Linked DNA regions of Homo sapiens: region 2 is linked to region 1. Evidence: promoter capture Hi-C in 16 types of primary human blood cells and fetal thymus (Javierre and others, 2016). All regions are on one chromosome and are shown on one strand. Each heading gives the region's core, a stretch centred on a gene start or on the middle of the fragment in contact. The rest is flanking DNA. Distances are from core to core; before and after follow the strand shown. Region 1 holds the start of CCL19 (C-C motif chemokine ligand 19). Region 2 has its middle 25 kb from the start of SPATA31F3.

Evidence for each region. Contacts are between HindIII fragments. The CHiCAGO score rates a contact against its expected background, and 5 or more counts as called.
Region 2: a fragment that was not itself captured here is called in contact with the fragment with the promoter of CCL19 in region 1 in 1 of 17 cell types (endothelial precursors); the score reaches 5.1 in endothelial precursors.

Annotation. Positions count from the first base shown.
Region 1 is chr9:34,687,084-34,693,866 of GRCh38, forward strand. CCL19 (C-C motif chemokine ligand 19) reads right to left here and starts at 4,193. Exons shown (of 4, transcript NM_006274.3): 1 at 4,008-4,193; 2 at 3,127-3,259; 3 at 2,847-2,940; 4 at 2,487-2,756. The coding sequence starts at 4,056. The coding sequence ends at 2,736. It also overlaps a transcript of PHF24 not described here. The HindIII fragment of the contact is 13,722 bases long and covers 2,213-6,783 here.
Region 2 is chr9:34,867,416-34,874,115 of GRCh38, forward strand. It overlaps a transcript of PHF24 not described here. Among named protein-coding and RNA genes, the nearest start is that of SPATA31F3, 25 kb to the right of the region's middle. RefSeq lists an enhancer at 3,061-3,562. The HindIII fragment of the contact is 2,128 bases long and covers 513-2,640 here.

The DNA.
Region 1 (6,783 bases), core at 2,943-5,442:
AAAGCTAGGATGGAAAGCATTGGCTGTAGAAGGGGTGGGGAGGGTTGCATGCCAGCTCCCCTGGGACTCTGGTGTCCACCCCTTCAGATTTCCTCCAAGTTCTTCATTTCCCAGGCTTCCAGGGTCAATTGAATCCAAGGCACTTCACTAGCTCCTAGATTATTTTCTCTTTTTATGAGCCTCAGCATCTCCTTTGATCTCAGAGGGTGGCCCCAGGGAGAGTTTTCTGTATGTGCAAGACTTTGTGGGGTGTCTATGCAAATGCTGGCGGTTTAGCATGAGAACCAAAGATTCAGGAGCCAAGTCTTTGTTTGGAAGGAGTCTCAAAAATCAAGCTCCTCTCTCCCATCTGACAAATGGGGAAACTGGATCTCCGGGTGCAGAGTGGAAAAGGAACTTGCCCAGAGTCACACAATGAGTGGGGCAGAGACAGGATCATGGGACTCTGGCCCAGGCAGTGAATTCAGGATTTGCTCTGTACCTCCTGGCGGCAGTGTCATGGAGGTAGCGTCCAGGGGCCCCTATCCTGGTAGCATCTTCTTCAAGGTTCCCACTCTCACCTGCCCTGCTCCGTCTGTGTGTTCCTCCGATAGTCCAGAAAGATCACTTTTGTTGCTTCTGTGGCAGGCTGACTTCCTCTAAATGTCACTGGCACTGAGAAGGATTTCAGGCAATGTGCTCCCCTCCCATGTGTGTTTGTCCTCTGAGACACCAGCCTGCTGGGATGCGGGGCACGGGGTCCACAGCTGGGAGACCTAGAACGCCATGGCTGGCTGGCTTGGTGGATGGATGAAAGAATGGCTGGGTGGGAAGTGCGTGAGTGGACAGTTGGCTGGATGGAGGTCTGATGAATGCAGAAACAGCTGAATGAATGGATGCATGGATGCATGAATGGATGGGTTATTGCAGCTTTTCTTGAAAACTATCCCTATCCCTCCCACCCACCTGGTATTCCAGGTGATTCTGAGACCTGGGATACCCAAGGTTTTGAGCACCTGCATCTGGGAGCAGAGGAGAGGAAGAGGATGTCATGCTCTCAGTGAGGAGGGGCTTTCACAACTCCCTCACCATTTCTCCCTTTTCAAGGCCTGCCCAGGCCTGGTTTTGTTGCTGGCTGACGTATACCCGATATAATGACACCTCTCTTCCCAAGCAAGGGTGCTCAATCTGGCCTCCTTGCTGTCATCTGACCCCAGTGGCACAGCCTTGTCACTCCCAGCTGGAGAGGCCCTTAGAGAACACTGTCTGGAGGCTAGCCTGCTTCCCCAGGAGACTTCTCAAGTACGAGGCACTCACTCTGTACAGAGAAGCCCTGTGGGATGCTCCAAGAGTCACACGGCTCTCATCTCCCAGAGCTGAGATTCCTTTCTGGTCTCATCTGGGGAGATGTCTCTGGTCTCAGTGTTGCCTTTGAGCCCTGGAGCCCATGTAGACTGTAGGGGTGGTGGTAGGGCTCCTCTATGTGGAATCTCCTGTGCTTCCCTGGCTACTCCTTCTTCCACCCCGTGGGCCTCTCTCCTGTCTCTGACCTCTGACTCCCAGGTCTGTCTGTCGGTGTCCCTGAGAGGCATGGCCCCAGGATTGCAAAGATGGGGCTGGACCTTGCTCAGTTTGGCTGAGAGAGGAAGGCTGGCCTGGAGGTCAGATTCTGTATGGACAGAATGAACAGATGGACCCTCAGCCCTGGCTGCTGAGCCTTTCCTCACATATTTATTCATTCTCTAAACAAATATTTATTGAGGGACTGCCTTGTGCCAAGCAGCATGCTGGACACCACAAAAACAGTGGAACCCAAAATAGATGTGATCCCAGTCCAAGAACATGGACAAATTTGGACAAACCAGCAACTATAAGTCAGGGTGATGAATGCTGTGAGGGGCCACTGCAGGAGGCTACCTAACCCAGCCTGGGGTCAGGGAAGGCTTCCTGGAGGAAGAGGCGTCTGGACCCAGATGGGAAGCCAGGTGGGCAGAGGAGAGAGAAGAGTGTGCCAGACCAAGGGAAGGGCATGGGTGGATGGGTATTTTCCCCCAGGCAGTAGAGCTGGGCCCTTTGCCCCACTCCACCTCCCCCAGCCGTGAGAGCTGGTTCCCCACAACTCCCTTCCCCCCAGTGACACTGGATTCCTTAGACACCTGGATGCTTGAACACCTGCCTTGGAGAGCAAAGAGTGGGAGGCATGAGACGCTGGCTCATTCAGGGAACTGACCCAAGCTTAGTGTCGCTGAACTATGGAAAGCAATGAGGCTGATCCTGAGAGCATCAGGTTGTTAAGTGGAGGTGAGCAAGGAGACCCCCTAGGCCACAGAAGAGAAAATAGATCCTGCCATTCCACCTCCCCCTTCCTATTCCTGTCCACCTGGCTAGACAGCAAACGGACAGCAGACAGATCTATGGGTGCCAGGTGCCTTTTTTTTTTTTTTTAAGGCTAGTTAAGCAGTAGGAGTGGAGAAAGAACAAAGAAATCTGTAACAGGTTGTGATCAATTAGTTGTAAACACCAGGCGGCTTTATTGGTAGCATTGCAATCTGGGGGTGGAGCAGCTTTACTCTGACCACACTCACCCTCTCGCTCACACTCACACTCACACACACCCCAGGCCCTGTCCTGGCTGGTCAGGTCTGGTGCAGAGGAGCTGGAAGCCTGGTCCTTCCTTCTGGTCCTCGGTTCCCCAGGTTAGGTAATAATTCACAATGCTTGACTCGGACTCCGGGCTCCCTCTGCACGGTCATAGGTTAACTGCTGCGGCGCTTCATCTAGAGGAGGAAGGAGAGGAAGGATCATGGGCTGGAATCTTAGACAGGAGCTCAGAGGGAGGAGACAGGGCCAGGGAGGGCCAGGCTTGCCTTGGCTGAGGTCCTCTGCAGTCTCTGGATGATGCGTTCTACCCAGGGCTGGTCTGGGGGTGCACAGAGCTGGCGGCCCCTCAGTGTGGTGAACCTGGGGTGAGAGGCCGGAGAGAATGGAGCCCCAGAATCCAGCATGCCTGGGGACCATGTCTGGGAACCTGTTTCAGGGATTTCCTTGAAGGGGTTGGGCTTGGCATGGAGAAGGGGAATAAGAAGGTGGGAGTCTCAACAGGGGCTAAAACGGGAGATGAGGCTAGACACCCTCCCCACAACTCACACTACAGCAGGCACCCTGCAGCCATCCTTGATGAGAAGGTAGTGGAAGTTCCTCACGATGTACCCAGGGATGGGTTTCTGGGTCACAGACAGGCAGCAGTCTTCAGCATCATTGGTGCCACTCAGAGTTGGGGCTGGGATGGGGAAAGAAGGTGACAGGACACAGGGACCCTTGAGGGTGGCATGGCCATGGCCCTAGCTCGGATTGAGGACACCTGTGTGTGTGTGTGTGTGTGTGTGTGTGTGTGTGTGTGTGTGTGTCTGGTGGGGTCGGGGAGGAGTTAGACCTGGTATTCAGCCATTATGCACCAATATGGCTCTGGCTCTACTGGTTGCTAAATATATTGTCATACTTCTAAACTGTTTTGTAAATAACCACTGCCCTGAGCCCCACAAATGACTTCCTGCTGCCCTGATCACCCCAACCTCTCTCCCAGGACAATCCAGCAAGTAAAGAGTTAATGCAGGTCACAGTGTGGGAGGGGCGTGGGGTAGGGTAGGCTGGTGTTAGGAGCCTTATTAATTGCTAAAATTTTTGAATATCAGCCTTGGCTTAGTGTCTGCCATTCTCCCTACCTTAAGCAAATCTCCTTCTGCCTGGGAAACGGAGGCAGCAGGAAATAGAGCTTGCAGAGACAGTCACAGCCATAGGCCCCAGGATGTGCTAAAAGACACACCCGCATTGGGATTCAGGGGCACAGGGACACCCACACTTACAGGCACACATGCAGGGACCTGCCAGGCTCACCGAAATATACAGACCTAAGCATTTGCCTGAACTCACCATGTCCCTTACGTCCAGTGCCAAGCAATCTGAGATCTAGACATTACCCACTGCCAGCCCCCCACTGCCTCTGACCCTGACTCTCCCTTCAGCCTTACCTGGGGAAGTCCAGAGAACCAGCAGGCTGAGGGCCAGTAGCAGGGCCATGGAGGGTGAACAGAGGCAGGCCAACGGTGAATGTGTGAGCGCCAGCTGTCTGGGTGTGTGCAGGATCTGTGTGAGGCTGCAGGGCGACTGGGATGCAGGGGTGAAATGCAAGGTGTGAGTGATGTGAGGCTGGGAATGTGAGCCCTGCAGCTGACTCCTATTTATGGCCAGAGCTTCACTTTCTCTGCCTGAAATTCCCCTTCATGTCCCATTCTGTGATTCCCCTGTTGCCCCCCTCTTTCTGGCAGAATCGCACCCTGCCCCCCTTCTTCCCCCTGCGGTTGCCCTTTCCTTCTGCTTTCCTTGGCTCCTGCTCTGAGAACTTAAGTCTGCAGTCTGGCCCAGTAAAGGGGGCTGTGCACTGTTTCTCCAGAGAGAGGGATTGCCCTGTCATCCCATTGATGGCATTTGCATCATCAACCATGAAGCTGGGGTTCAGAAGTGATGGTCAAAGGTGGGGCCCACAGTGAGGAACTGTGCTCCCTTCCTTAGGTTTATCCCTTGTCCTCACTGGTGCTTCTTTCTTGGGCTGGTGGTGAAGAAGGCTCCCTGGCACCCTCAGGACAACCATGAGATCCTGGGGTGGCCTCCAAGGTCATCACTGTGCCTGCCCACTATGTGGGAACCAGTCCTTCCCTTGGGGCAAGCAGAGCTGAAAGGCCAGGTACCTTGGGAGGAGGCCCAGGACCCCCATCCCACATCTCAGGCCTCTGGGGCTCAGCAAACCCTCCCCTTCCTCTATTTACTGTTTTCCTATGTCCAACACCTGGGTCAAAGGAACAGCTGGAGGGAGACTGGCTTGGAATAGCCCCCTTCATTTTCCCCCTTTTCTCAGTCCTGGGAACCAAGAGGGGATTTCTAAGGAGAGGGGCTGGCCAGCTCATATTCAGACAAATCTTAAAATTTCAAGGAATCGGCCGATGGGGGAGGGGACAAGTGACTTCCCATCCTTATGAGAAAGGTCAGAAGAGAAGGCCTTGAAAGAGAAACTAAATGTGAAACGCCCAGTCACCCGTCGTCACCCAAACCCTAGACCCTCTTTTGGATGGAGAGAGGGAGGGGGAACATTTCCCTCTTAAATTTCTGACTTAGCTTCTTTCCATTCATTAATCATAATAATAGTAATGGTATTTTTGATTGTTTACTATGTGCTAGGCTCTATGTCAAGGACTTTACCACTATTACCTTGCTTAACTTTCCCAAAACAATACCATTGATGTAGTTTTTCTTATTTTCACATTATTATTCTTATTTTACACATAAGGAACATGAGGCTCAGAGCACAAAGCCACACAGCTAGTAAGTACTGGAGCATGATTTGGACCCAGGTGTGCTCTAGGGTTTGCAGTCTTTACCTCCACTCCACACCGCCTGTCTGCCACTTGGTCATGGCACAGCACGGGTAGTCACGGTGCAGAGGAGGGAGACTCTGCAGACAGAGCGCCTAGCTTGGGATTCAGATTCCACCACTTACTAACTGCGACAAGGTGAAAATTCTCCAGTTTCTGTGTCTTAGTGTCCTTATTTGTAAAATGGGAATGGTAGAAGATCTACTTCTTAGGATTAAGTGAGGAACCCTGAGTAAAGCCCTTAGCTTAGAGGCTGACGCACAATAAGCTCTGTTAGCCATTGTTCTTCTTTTGTCCTTTTTTTTTTTTTTTTTTTGAGACAGAGTCTCACTCTGTCACCCAGGCTGGAGTACAATGGCACGATCTTGGCTCAGAGCAACCTCCACCTCCTGGGCTCAAGGGATTCTCCTGCCTCAGCCTCCTGAGTAGCTGGGATTACAGGCACCCACCATCATGCCCGGCTAAATTTGGTATTTTTAGTAGAGGTGAGGTTTCACCTTGTTGGCTAGGCTGGTTTCGAACTCCTGGTTTCGAACTCCTGACTTCAAATGATCTGCTTGCCTCCGCTTCCCAAAGTGTTGGGATTACAGGCGTGAGCCACCGTGCCTGGCCTTCTATCCTTTTATTCAGGTATCTGTTCATTAATTCATCCATCCACCCCTCTTTCCATTGATCTATCCATTCTTCTGTCCATGATGGTTCTGGTTATTCTGTTTGCCCCAGCCTATCCATTCTCCACTCTTCACGGCCCTGCTCTGCTCCCTGGAAGGCTGACCTCTGCAGATAGCATTACTTAGGGTCACCTGCTTTCTGGCTTCTGTTTGGGGCTGGCCCATGGGAAGCAGCAACTGATCAGTGGTGGAAGGAGAGAGGGGTATTAATTCCCCAAATCCTTCATCTTGCTGCAGTTCTGGCAGTGAATAATTTCCCCTGTGGCAGTTGTTCTCAAAGAGTAGCCTTTGGGCAGCAGCAGCAGCATCACTTGGGAGCTTGTTAGAAACACGAATTCTTAGATTTTACTTCCCACTTACCACATCTGAGACTCTGAGGATGGGGTCCAGCAAACTGCATTTTCACATACCCTCCAAGTGACTCTGATATGTGCTAAAGTTTGAGATCCAAACGAGCCTCAGGGATACCATCAAATATACCTCATCACAGGAGTCTCAGGAGGAGAATAGAGAGAACAGGGCATTAAAAAAATTGAAGAAATAATGACAAAACATCTGAAATCTGATGAAAAGTATGTATATACATATCCAAGAAGTTCATTACGCCTGGCCTGCTATGTTGTTATGTTTATCAGAGATCTTTGTTTCTTTGTGTGGCTGTAAGTTATTACTTTTTGTCCTTTTGTTTCATTCTGAAGGTCTCCCTT
Region 2 (6,700 bases), core at 327-2,826, 180 kb after region 1:
GGGAGGTACCAGGTAGACCCCTTCAGGGTCTACAAACATGAAAACTAAAAATAGCCTGTAGGCTACTGCCAAGTGACAGAATGGCTGAGTAGGAACAGGCTTCAAGAGCACTGTAGTAAGGCACTGGATTTCCTAAGGAACAGCCAGTCACTGGAGAACAATCAGACCCCTTGGGGCTTGGATTCCCTTAAAGACCGCAGAGGATAGGGACTCCTTTTGATGGTTTTTGTTAAAAGTCTCAGGGTTGATGCTGATGTGAACAGTGAGCTCAGGATTTGTGCCATGCATTCTGTACTTTTTATAGACCCTAGTTCTGTTGGTTTTCCATACCCTTGAGGCTGGTCAACTTCTATGTTAGGTATGTGGCTTTTCATAAGGCTCTCAAACAATTCTTCAGGCATATGTTTTCAGGAACCAATTGTCAACCACTCTGAAAATTTTCACCTGTAAGTGTAGATACTGTTGCTAAATTTCTCCAGCTTAGACCCAAGACAGAGGATATGCATTTTCAAAGCTTCCTACTTGTGCCCCGCCACAAGTCTAAAGGACACAACATAAATGCAGGGGACTGTTGATTTTGGTAGTGATGGTCTCTCTTTTCTAATCATTGTGGTTGCGGAAACTGGCTAAATTCCAAAATTTTGTAGCTCTCCTCTGTGATCAGAAAAATCACCCATACTTAGCATATGGGTTACCTGTTCTCATCCTTGCTAGCCCTGACTCACAGTTCAGGCTCTACTTCTGGGGAAGCAGAGTGGGTGTGATGAGCTGAAGACTTTGTAGTTCCTGGAATTCAGTTTGAAGATTTGGTCTGATCAGTCTTTCTGGCCCAATTTGAGAAAAAGAAAGAATCATGACACCATTATCTCAAACATTTTATGTTGTCCAGTCATCTTTGTAACATTCATTCAACAAAGTATATAGAACACATGCTCTGTGGAAGGCAGTGAGAACTATCTCGATTCGTTTTCCTCTGTCCTGTTCTCTATGAAAAACTGGGGCTTCATTTTCTTCCTATTGAACACCCTGTGGTTGCTTCCACCCATTCTCCCTTTCAGAGATTTCTTTTATTTGTTTTTGCCTAATGAAGCTCTGTCACTTTTAACAGGAAATCACTGTCATTCTTTTGAGTCTTCCAAAAAGTTGTCACCCCCATATCAAGAATCAAATGAAAGCAAAGGCTCATCTTTTATATTTGCATTTAACATAGCAGTATGAGAGAGCTCTGGTTGCAACTGATTAGGAGGCTGCTCATCAGACTTTCACAGCTACTTATCCTTATAGAGAGAGGTAAAGGAGGGAGGTTCCCTAAATGCTTTCTTATTTCTTCTTTTCCTTCTCTTTTTTTTTCCTTCAACTTTAAGTTCTGGAGTACATGTGCAGGTTCGTTACATAGGTAAATGTGTGCCATGGTGGTTTGCTGTATAGATCAACCCATCACCTAGTCATTAAGCCCAGCATCCATTAGCTATTCTTCCTGATGCTCTTCCTCTCCCAGCCCTGCATGACAGGCCCCAGTGTGTGTTGTTCCCCACCATGTGTCCATGTGTTATCGTTCAGCTCCCACTTATAAGTGAGAACATGCAGTGTTTGGTTTTCTGTTCCTGCGTTCGTTTGCTGAGGATAACGGCTTCCAGCTCCATCCATGTCCCTGCCAAGGACATAATCTCATTCCTTTTTATGGTTGCATAGTATTCCATGGTATGTATGTGCACAATTTTCTTTATCCAGTCTACCATTGATGGGCATTTGGGTTGATTCCATGTCTTTGGTATTCTGAATAGTGCTGCAATGAATATATGCATGCATGTATCTTTATAATAGAATGATTTATATTCCTTTGGGTATGTACCCAGTAATGGGATTGCTGGATCAGATGGTATTTCTGCTTCTAGATCTTTGAGGAGTCACCACACTGTCTTCTATAATGGTTGAACTAATTTACACTCCCATCAACAGTGTAAAAGCATTCCTTTTTCTCCACAACCTGGCCAGCATCTGTTGTTTCTTGACTTTTTAATAATCGTGATTCTGACTGACGTGAGATGTTATCTCCTTGTAGTTTTTATTTGTGTTTCTCTAGTGATGAGTGATGTTGAGCTTTTTTTCATGTTTCTTGGCCATATGAATGTCTTCTCCTTCTCCTGCTGCAGAACAGCTCCCCCTGCCTCCCACTTTACCCTTACAAATAAGCAAGTTCTCTGCAGAGAAATGTGTGTGTTTTGTATACACACACACACACATACACACTGCCTGCATATATCTTACTACCTTACAGATACATCTAGAGAGGTTTTTTTGTTTGTTTTGTTTTTGGCTGCAATAGTACCAAGGAAAGATTCAGGCTATAATCTGCCTTCATTTTCTTTAGTTTATATAGCCAGATGACCCTAATCTACCTTCTTATCCCACTTTTTGAGGTTCTTTTTGAGTCCTCACCACAAATTATCTGACTTTTCATCCTTGTTAGGAAGGCAGAAATTCCCAGTTTTCAACCAAAAAAGTAATCATTAGGCATAATTTGTGGCACCTTTGTCATTTCATTTCTTTACAATTTCTTTTTCTTAGAACTTCCTCCAGCACAATGGAGGCCAGTCTTTCTCATCAGGTATTTGTTTTTGTTGTTTTTTTAAATTAATAAGCTTTATTTTTTAGAGCAGTTTTAGGTTCACAGTAAAATTAAGTGGAAAGTACAAAAAGCTTGCATATGCCCCCACCCCAGCAAAACCTTCCCCACTATCAACATCCTGCACTACAGTCCTAAACTTGTTTCCACTGATGAACCTACATTGACACATCATTATCACCCAAAGTCCATCATTTACATTAGAGTTCACTCTTGGGGAAGTGTGCATTCTATGGATTTTGATAAGTATATAATGGATAGTAATACTGCATAAATGTATAAATATATATATTTTGATAAGTGTGAATCGACCCTTGTTAGTATCATGTAGAATAGTTTCACTGCCCAGAAAAAAAAATTCTCTGTGCTCTACCTATTCATTCATCCCTCCCCGTAACCTTTGGCAACTACTTACCCTTTTACTGTCTCCATAGTTTTACCCTTTTCCAGAATGTCATATAATTGGTATTATACAGTATGTAGCCTTTTCAGATTGATTTCGTTCACTTAGCAGTATGTATTTAAGGTTCTTCCATGTCTTTTTTTTTGAGACAGGGTCTCATCCACCCAGGCTAAAGTGCAGTGGTACAATCATGTCTCACTGCAGGCTTGACCTCCTGGACTCAAGCAATCCTCTCAGCTCAGCCTCCCAAGTAACTGGGACCACAGGTGCACACCACTATTCACAATGGCAAAGACATGGAATCAACCCAAAGACCACCTTCCGTGTCTTTTCATGGCTTCATACCTCGTTTCTTTTTAATGCTGAGCAATATTGCATTGTATGGACATACTAAAGTTTATTCATCTATAGAAAGACATCTTGGTTGCTTCCAAGTTTTGGAAATCATGAGTAAAGCTGTTATAAACATCCATGTGGTTTTTGTGTGGCTATAAGTTTTCAATTCATTTGGATAAATACAAAGAAGCTCACTTGCTGGATCATATGGCAAGAATATATTTAGGTTTATAAGAAATTACCAGCCTGTTTTCCAAAGTGTTTGTGCTATTTTCCTACCAGCAATGAACGAGAGTGCCTGTTGCTTCCACATCCTTGCCAGCATTTGCTATTGTCAATGTTTTGGATTTTGGCCATTTTAATAGCTATGTAATCTTGTCTTGTTGTTTTAATTTGCAGTTCCCTAAGGACATATGGTGTGGAACATCTTTTCACATGTTTACTTGCCATCTGTATACCTTCTTTGGTGAGGAGTCCAAGTCTTTTGCCCATTTTTAAATTCAGTTCTTATTTTATTATTGTCGAGTTTTAAGAGTGCTTTGTATACTTTGGATAGCAGTCCTTTACCAGATGTGTATTTTGCAAATATTTTCTTCCAGTATGTGGTGTGTCTTCTCATTCTTTTGACATTGTCTTTCAGAGAGAAGACTTTTTTCATTTTAATGACGTCCAGCTTATCAATTATTTCTTTCACAGATCATGACTTTGATGTTATACCTAAAAAGTCATCATCATACCCAAGGTCCATTAGGTTTTCTCCTATGTTATCTTTTGGGGTTTTTTAGGTTTCTGTTTTATGTTTAGGTCTATGATCCATTTTGAATTAAGTTTTGTAAAGGATGTAAGGTCTGTGTCTAGGTTCATTTTTGCATATTGATGTTCAGTTGTTCCAGCACCATTTTCTCCTTTGTCAAAGATCAGTTATATTTCTGTGGATCTGTTTCTGGGCTCTCTATTCTGTTCCATTGATTTATGTGTTCTTCACCACTACCACACCGTCTTGATTACTGTGGCTTTATAATAAGTCTTGAAGTTGAGTAGTATCAGTCCTCCAACCTTGGTCTTCTCCTTCCATGTTGAGATAGTCTTTTACCTCTCCATCTAAACTTTAGAAGCAATTTGTCATTATCCATAAAATAGCTGCTGGAATTTTTATTGGGATTGCATCAAAGCTGTAGATCAAGTTGTGAAGAACTGAGATCTTGACAATATTGTCTTCCTATTCATGAATGTTGAATATCTTTCCATTTATTTAGTTCTTCCTTGATATCTTTCATCAGGGTTTTGCATATGTATATATTTATTTGTTTTCCTCATAAAGATCTGGTACATAGTTTGTTAGGTTTATACCTATGTATTTCTTTTTTCCTTTTGAGTGCCAATGTAAACAGCAATTTATTTTTATTTTTATTATTTTTTTATTTTTTATTTTTTTATTATTATACTTTAAGTTTTAGGGTACATGTGCACATTGTGCAGGTTAGTTACATATGTATACATGTGCCATGCTGGTGCGCTGCACCCACTAACTCTTCATCTAGCATTAGGTATATCTCCCAATGCTATCCCTCCCCCCTCCCCCCACCCCACAACAGTCCCCAGAGTGTGATATTCCCCTTCCTGTGTCCATGTGATCTCATTGTTCAGTTCCCACCTATGAGTGAGAATATGCGGTGTCTGGTTTTTTGTTCTTGCGATAGTTTACTGAGAATGATGATTCCCAATTTCACCCATGTCCCTACAAAGGACATGAACTCATCATTTTTTATGGCTGCATAGTATTCCATGGTGTATATGTGCCACATTTTCTTAATCCAGTCTATCATTGTTGGACATTTGGGTTGGTTCCAAGTCTTTGCTATCGTGAATAATGCCGCAATAAACATACGTGTGCATGTGTCTTTATAGCAGCATGATGTATAATCCTTTGGGTATATACCCAGTAATGGGATGGCTGGCTCAAATGGTATTTCCAGTTCTAGATCCCTGAGGAATCGCCACACTGACTTCCACAATGGTTGAACTAGTTTACAGTCCCACCAACAGTGTAAAAGTGTTCCTATTTCTCCACATCCTCTCCAGCACCTGTTGTTTCCTGACTTTTTAATGATTGCCATTCTAACTGGTGTGAGATGGTATCTCATTGTGGTTTTGATTTGCATTTCTCTGATGGCCAGTGATGAGCATTTTTTCATGTGTTTTTTGGCTGCATAAATGTCTTCTTTTGAGAAGTGTCTGTTCATGTCCTTTGCCCACTTTTTGATGGGGTTGTTTGTTTTTTTCTTGTAAATTTGTTTGAGTTCATTGTAGATTCTGGATATTAGCCCTTTGTCAGATGAGTAGGTTGTGAAAATTTTCTCCCATTCTGTAGGTTGCCTGTTCACTCTGATGGTAGTTTCTTTTGCTGTGCAGAAGCTCTTTAGTTTAATTAGATCCCATTTGTCAATTTTGGCTTTTGTTGCCTTTGCTTTTGGTGTTTTAGACATGAAGTCCTTGCCCATGCCTATGTCCTGAATGGTATTGCCTAGGTTTTCTTCTAGGGTTTTTATGGTTTTAGGTCTAACATGTAAGTCTTTAATCCATCTTGAATTAATTTTTGTATAAGGTGTAAGGAAGAGATCCAGTTTCAGCTTTCTACATATGGCTAGCCAGTTTTCCCAGCACCATCTATTAAATAGGGAATCCTTTCCCCATTTCTTGTTTTTGTCAGGTTTGTCAAAGATCAGATGGTTGTAGATATGCGGCATTATTTCTGAGGGCTCTGTTCTGTTCCATTGATCTATATCTCTGTTTTGGTAACAGTACCATGCTGTTTTGGTTACTGTAGCCTTGTAGTATAGTTTGAAGTCAGGTAGCGTGATGCCTCCAGCTTTGTTCTTTTGGCTTAGGATTGACTTGGTGGTGTGGGCTCTTTTTTGGTTCCATATGAACTTTAAAGTAGTTTTTTCCAATTCTGTGAAGAAAGTCATTGGTAGCTTGATGGGGATGGCATTGAATCTATAAATTACCTTGGGCAGTATGGCCATTTTCATGATATTGATTCTTCCTACCCATGAGCATGGAATGTTCTTCCATTTGTTTGTATCCTCTTTTATTTCATTGAGCAGTGGTTTGTAGTTCTCCTTGAAGAGGTCCTTCACATCTGGTTGGATTCCTAGGTATTTTATTCTCTTTGAAGCAATTGTGAATGGAAGTTCACTCATGATTTGGCTGTTTGTCTGTTACTGGTGTATAAGAATGCTTGTGATTTTTGCACATTGATTTTGTATCCTGAGACTTTGCTGAAGTTGCTTATCAGCTTAAGGAGATTTTGGGCTGAGACAATGGGGTTTTCT